Regions from separate parts of the Homo sapiens genome. Here region 1 is linked to region 2. The links are contacts of gene promoters, found by promoter capture Hi-C in blood cells and fetal thymus (Javierre and others, 2016). All regions are on one chromosome and are shown on one strand. The core of a region is centred on a gene start or on the middle of the fragment in contact, and the rest is flanking DNA. Distances in the headings are between cores, read along the strand shown.

Region 1 (2,700 bases), core at 104-2,603, 230 kb before region 2:
GTGCACACCAGTGGTCCCAGCTACTCAGGAGGCTGAGGTGGGAGAATCACTTGAGCCCAGGAGGCGGAGGCTGCAGTGAGCTATGATCACACCACGGCACTCCAGCCTAGGGGACGGAGCTAGACCCTGCCTCAAAGAAAAAAAAGTGTGGCATGGGACCCACTCAAGGGAAGTTCATAAGAAAAATGTAGTCTCCTTCCCCTCCTGCCCCTTCTCAGGGGATTGGGGGAGGCCAGGGGGACTCAGCAGTGGCTCTGTGGACCTCTGCTCCCAGCCTCGAGCTGCTGCGTGACCCTGGATGGAGCCCCTACTCTTTCTGGGCCCATTTTCCCTAAGGGAAACGGGATCGGGGATCCCACATAAAATACACTCAATCCTTGCAGCAAAAACATCTTTGGGGCCGGGCAGGGTGGCTCACACCTGTGATCCTAGCACTTTGGGAGGCCGAGGAGGGAGGATCGCCCCAGGAGCTCGTTCCAGGCTGCAGTGAGCTGGGATTGCACCACTGCGCTCCAGCCTGGGCAACAGTGTGAGACCCTGTCTCCAAAGAAAAAGACAGTTTTGACAGGCACGCAGTTCAGCTGGAATTTCACCCCGCGTCTGCTTTTCCTTGGGTTTTTTCCATTCTTGATTTTTCCATTTATGGTGATTTTATCTAAAACGTCTTTTCTAAATAAATGCATCGAGGCAGTGAGGAAGGGGGAAGGGGGAAAACGAGCCGATTCCATCTTTTCAAAGAAAAATCCAGCAGGCGTGGCTGTTAGCAGGCGGGATGTGGGAGCCACTCTTCTTTCTTCGCCGGAGCACGGAGAGGGTGGGGATTTGCCCGCAGTCACACAGCGAGGCGCGGCAGAGCCGGGAGGGTCCTCGCCCACGCTCCACATTCGGGGGCCCTGGGATGGGGCAGGGGGCCGCTGGGGGCTCCTCAGATGCTGCCGCAGGAGGGGAGGTGGTTCCCGGGGAAGTGAAACCCACAGACCCCACTTGCACCTTCTCCAGGGACAGCCGCCACCGTGTTCTGTGCGCTCCCCTACGGTGGGCCAGCTCTGCCCCTCTCTCCCCATCTCACAGGGCTCCCCACTGCCCCGCACCCCAGCCTGGCCTCTGAGGCTGTGGGGGGCCTTCCACTGCCCCCACCCGGCTGTCAGCCCTGGGGCTATTGACTTTCAGATCCCACCTCCTGGTCTCTGTCCAGGCTGTTCCCTCCCGGTTACATCCTGTCCTCTGCGGGCGGGCAGGGGAGGCGGCGGCCTCGGCTGCTGGGGAAGTGTTGCAGAAATGTCCCCTCCCCACCCCGGGCTGCGGTCTGACAGTGGGCCGGACGTTTTCCTGTCAGCTGCCGGCGCCAGGTCAGACCCCTCCTGCGAGGCCAGGGGCTGTGGCCATTGGGAGTTTGTCCCCACGGACCCCTCCTCCCCCAGAGGGCACGCCAGTCTTGAAGGTAGGGGGCTCCTGGAGCGGGGAGCTGGACAGAAGCGGCCACTTTTTGAGGTTGGGATCTGGGCGGGGGTGGGTCGAGGCCTGGCTGCCGGCAGCAACCGCACGGCTGAGCCCTCGGGGATGAGGCCTGAGTGTGGATCCCTGGGTCCCTGGACACTGTCTCCCCCGCAACTGACCCCCAAAGGCCTGTCCTCAGGCTGAACACTCTGTCCCCATCCCAAACGTGCAGAGGGGGGTCCTTCCCACTGCCTGGAAAATTGATGGGTGACAGACCTGCCTCATGATTGAGGAAGTGGGCCCAGAGAGGGCAGGAAACCCACTCGGGATCACACAGCAGGGCCCCAGAGAGGGCAGGAAACCCACTCAGAATCACACAGCAGGGGCCCAGAGAGAGTAGGAAACCCACTCGGGATCACACAGCAGGGCCCCAGAGAGGGCAGGAAACCCACTCGGGATCACACAGCAGGGCCCCAGAGAGGGCAGGAAACCCACTCGGGATCACACATCAGGGGCCCAGAGAGGGCAGCAAACCCACTCAGGATCACACAGCAGGGCCCCAGAGAGGGCAGCAAACCCACTCAGAATCACACAGCAGGGGCCCAGAGAGAGTAGGAAACCCACTCGGGATCACACAGCAGGGCCCCAGAGAGGGCAGGAAACCCACTCAGAATCACACAGCAGGGGCCCAGAGAGAGTAGGAAACCCACTCGGGATCACACAGCAGGGCCCCAGAGAGGGCAGGAAACCCACTCGGGATCACACATCAGGGGCCCAGAGAGGGCAGCAAACCCACTCAGGATCACACAGCAGGGCCCCAGAGAGGGCAGCAAACCCACTCAGAATCACACAGCAGGGGCCCAGAGAGAGTAGGAAACCCACTCGGGATCACACAGCAGGGGCCCAGAGAGGACAGGAAACCCACTCGGGATCACACAGCAGGGGCCCAGAGAGGACAGGAAACCCACTCGGGATCACACAGCAGGGTCAAAACTGGACAAGGGAGTGGAGTGTGGGTGCGCCTGTTCTCACCAAGGGCCCTGGAGCAGGAGGCCTCGACGGTCTCCCAGGCCCCAGCACTCACGGACCCCTCCCCATGTCGCCCTGTGCGTGCACACGGTCACCCCACACACGCCCCGTTTGACCTTTCCCCAGCAACATGAGCAGCCCGGAGCCCCCCACAGAGCCCCCCGAGCCCGACAACCCCACCTGGTCGACTCAGCCCACGTATAGCAACCTTGGTAAGCAGCTCCCCAGGGAGCC
Region 2 (2,716 bases), core at 1-2,500:
TGTTTGTGCGTGTATGTGTTCACACGCACACACACGCACCCACATGCACAATAAGGGGGGCTGGGGGACCTGGTTTTCTGTCCCCCCATTGCCAAGAGTCAGGGCAATGCCAGGTGCTGGGCTGGGTTCTGGCTGGGAATTCCCCACAGGCTTCCCCCCAATGCCCCGGGGGTGGCTGAGGCCAGGCCTCCCAGCCCCTGTGGCCTGAGAGCTGTGGCCTTGCAGGCAGGGGCCCTCCAGCTTCAGGTCAGTGGGGCTCCAGCCCCTCTTGAGCTCAGGGCCTGGTTGGGGGATGGTGGGATGGGCTGTGCGAAGCTTCTGGAAACCCCTGCAGAAGAGGAGACCACAGTCCACCCAGCAGGGGAACCCCCACTCCTTGTGTGCCCCAGGCCCGGGGCCTGGGGAGCACTTTGAACCAGGATGCTGTGGGATGGGGGACTGGCAGCTCAGGACAGGCTGATTCTATCTAAGCCTGGTTTGGGGCCCCAGCCAAAATGGGACTGTGTTTTACTTCCTGTCCTGGCGACCATCCACCCCTTGGGCTCTTTCCCAGTGGGTCTCAGGTCCCAGTTCTCCCTGAAATGCTATTCGAGGACAGAGGAAGGGTCCTTCACAGACCTCGGTCCCCACCCTCTACTCTGGTTCCTGCCAACCACAAAGCAAACTCGGGGAGCTCAGTGCTCCCCAGGCAGGGTGGCCCAGGGGAAGAAGAAAGTAGGTGGCGGTGGCTGGTCCCCCAGCACTAGAAGGGAGTGGCTGGGACTCCAAGCGTGCTGGTGGTGCACGAGGGGGACTGCTGGAGCCAGCACTGGAGAACTGCAAGAGGGAGCCATGGCAGGTTCTAGAGCGAGGGCATGAACCAAGGGAGTCGGGGTATACTAGGCCTGGGTTGACAGGCCAAGGGAGTTGCCCTGTGTGGGGCCAGGCGGTAGGACACGGCCCAGGGCCTCGCAGGTCCCACGGGCCCCGCGAGCCTCAGGCGGCAAAAACAGGCCAGCTCCGGGCGCGCCGCAGGGTCGCTGCCTAGGTTCCGCACCGAGACCCCCGTGCGCCGCACTGCGCAGGCGTGCGCTAGCCGTTTCGGACACGCCCCACCGCCGGAGCGCGCAGCCGCACTGGGTTCCCGGAGAGCGCCCTCTTCTGGCTCCGCCCACGTCGTGCGCAGGGGGTGAGGCCGGGCGGAGCCTGCGTCGGGGGCGGGGCCAGAGCAGGTCCGGGCCTATAAAGGTGGCGGCGGCGGCGACGCGCCCGGCTCCTCTCAGCGGCGGTGGCCCAGGTAGAGGGGTCCGCGCTGGCGGCGGCGGCGGCGCTGTTCCCCGCGCGGTCCGCGGAGCGGGGTCCGGGCTGCGCGACGTGGGGCGGCGGCGGCACTGCGGCCCCGGCCCAAGCCCGACCCCGGTGAGTGCGAACCCCAGGGCGGCCCCGAGGACACCGACCCGGTAGCGGGAAACGGGCCCCGCGGAGCCCTCGCCGCCCCCGCCCGGTCCGCGCTCCTGGCAGGCCGGGCTCCGCTCACCGCCCTCCCTTTGTCTGCTCCCGCCCGCAGGGTCCCCTCCTCGGCCGCCCCCCGCCCGGCCGCCCGCCCTCGGGCCTCCCCCCGGGCCCTCGGTCCCCTCCCCCGCTGGCGGGGCCCGGACAGAAGATGGTGCAGAAGAAACCAGCCGAACTTCAGGGTTTCCACCGTTCGTTCAAGGTGAGGCCCGGGGTCGGTTTGGGGGCGCTCCGGGCTGGACCACCGGAATGGCCGGCGTGGGGGGCGCGGGGCCCGCCCCTAAGATCGGCTCCCGGGGCTCGTGCCTGGCCCCCGCCCTACACCCGGGGCTGCCCGGGCCGGCCGTGCGCTGAAGCGGGGTCGGTGTGCGAGGATGGGGGTTCAGCAGGCCACAGTCCTCTCTCCAGCCATGGCCGCCGGGTCCTTCCTCCAGGACCCCCAAGTGAGGCTGGGAGCAGGAGCCCCCTCCGGGTCAGGGCACCAGGCTGTGTGTCCCCTGCAAGCCCCCGCCGGGTATGTTCTGGGGGGTCAGCAGGCTGCAGTCCTGTCCCAGTCGCTGCATGTGGCTTATGGGGGGTGTCCCCTGCAAGCTCCAGCTGGTTGTGCCCTGGTGGGGACGGGTCAGCGGGCCACAGTCCCATTCCCACCTCCATGTGGCTTCTGGGGACTTTCTTTCAGAATCCCCAGGCCGGGCTGGTCAGGTGCACCCACCCCCAGGGGGCCTGTGCCGTGGGGGAGGGGATGGGATGTCCCCTCAGCCCTGCACTTCGCAGACACCCCAGGCCCAAGTGCTGTTTCCTGTCGGAGCGGGAAGTTTCTGCGCAGCCCGGGTGGTGACTGCTGTTGAGTGCTGGTTTCAGATGAGCAAATCTTGGGGGGGAAGGGGAGGGCAGGTGCTGGGCAGGGGCCCCGCAGGACCTGGCCCAGGGGACGCAGTGATGTCAGCCGGCCCGCCCCACCCCTCAGGCCGGGGTTATGTAATCGCTTCACTGGGCTTCCTTGGGCAGGGACCTGTTGCCCGGTAGGGAAGGCAGGACTGGAGAGAGGAAGAGAGAGTGTGAGTGTATGTGTGTGTGTTTGTGTGTGTGTGTGTCTCTGTCTTGTGTGTACACACAACGCGGTGCTCCAGGGTGGGAGGAGCAAAGAGAGACTGGGAAGAATTCCCAGGTCTGTCCAGCCAGTGCCCCAGGGCAGCACTCCACCCCTGCCACCCCTGCCCAGTTT

What was found. The method cuts DNA at HindIII sites, captures the fragments that hold promoters and counts their contacts. A CHiCAGO score of 5 or more calls a contact.
Region 1: the fragment with the promoter of PEAK3 here is called in contact with the fragment with the promoter of MKNK2 in region 2 in 1 of 17 cell types (neutrophils); the score reaches 5.2 in neutrophils.

Annotation. Positions count from the first base shown.
Region 1 is chr19:2,280,828-2,283,527 of GRCh38, reverse strand. It overlaps PEAK3 (PEAK family member 3), which reads left to right and starts at 1,353. Exons shown (of 4, transcript NM_198532.3): 1 at 1,353-1,441; 2 at 2,593-2,678. The coding sequence starts at 2,597. RefSeq lists an enhancer at 1,498-1,637. The HindIII fragment of the contact is 9,031 bases long and covers 1-2,700 here.
Region 2 is chr19:2,049,778-2,052,493 of GRCh38, reverse strand. It overlaps MKNK2 (MAPK interacting serine/threonine kinase 2), which reads left to right and starts at 1,250. Exons shown (of 14, transcript NM_199054.3): 1 at 1,250-1,398; 2 at 1,547-1,693. The coding sequence starts at 1,643. RefSeq lists silencers at 1,076-1,615, 2,346-2,535 and enhancers at 2,106-2,165, 2,342-2,716. The HindIII fragment of the contact is 17,390 bases long and covers 318-2,716 here.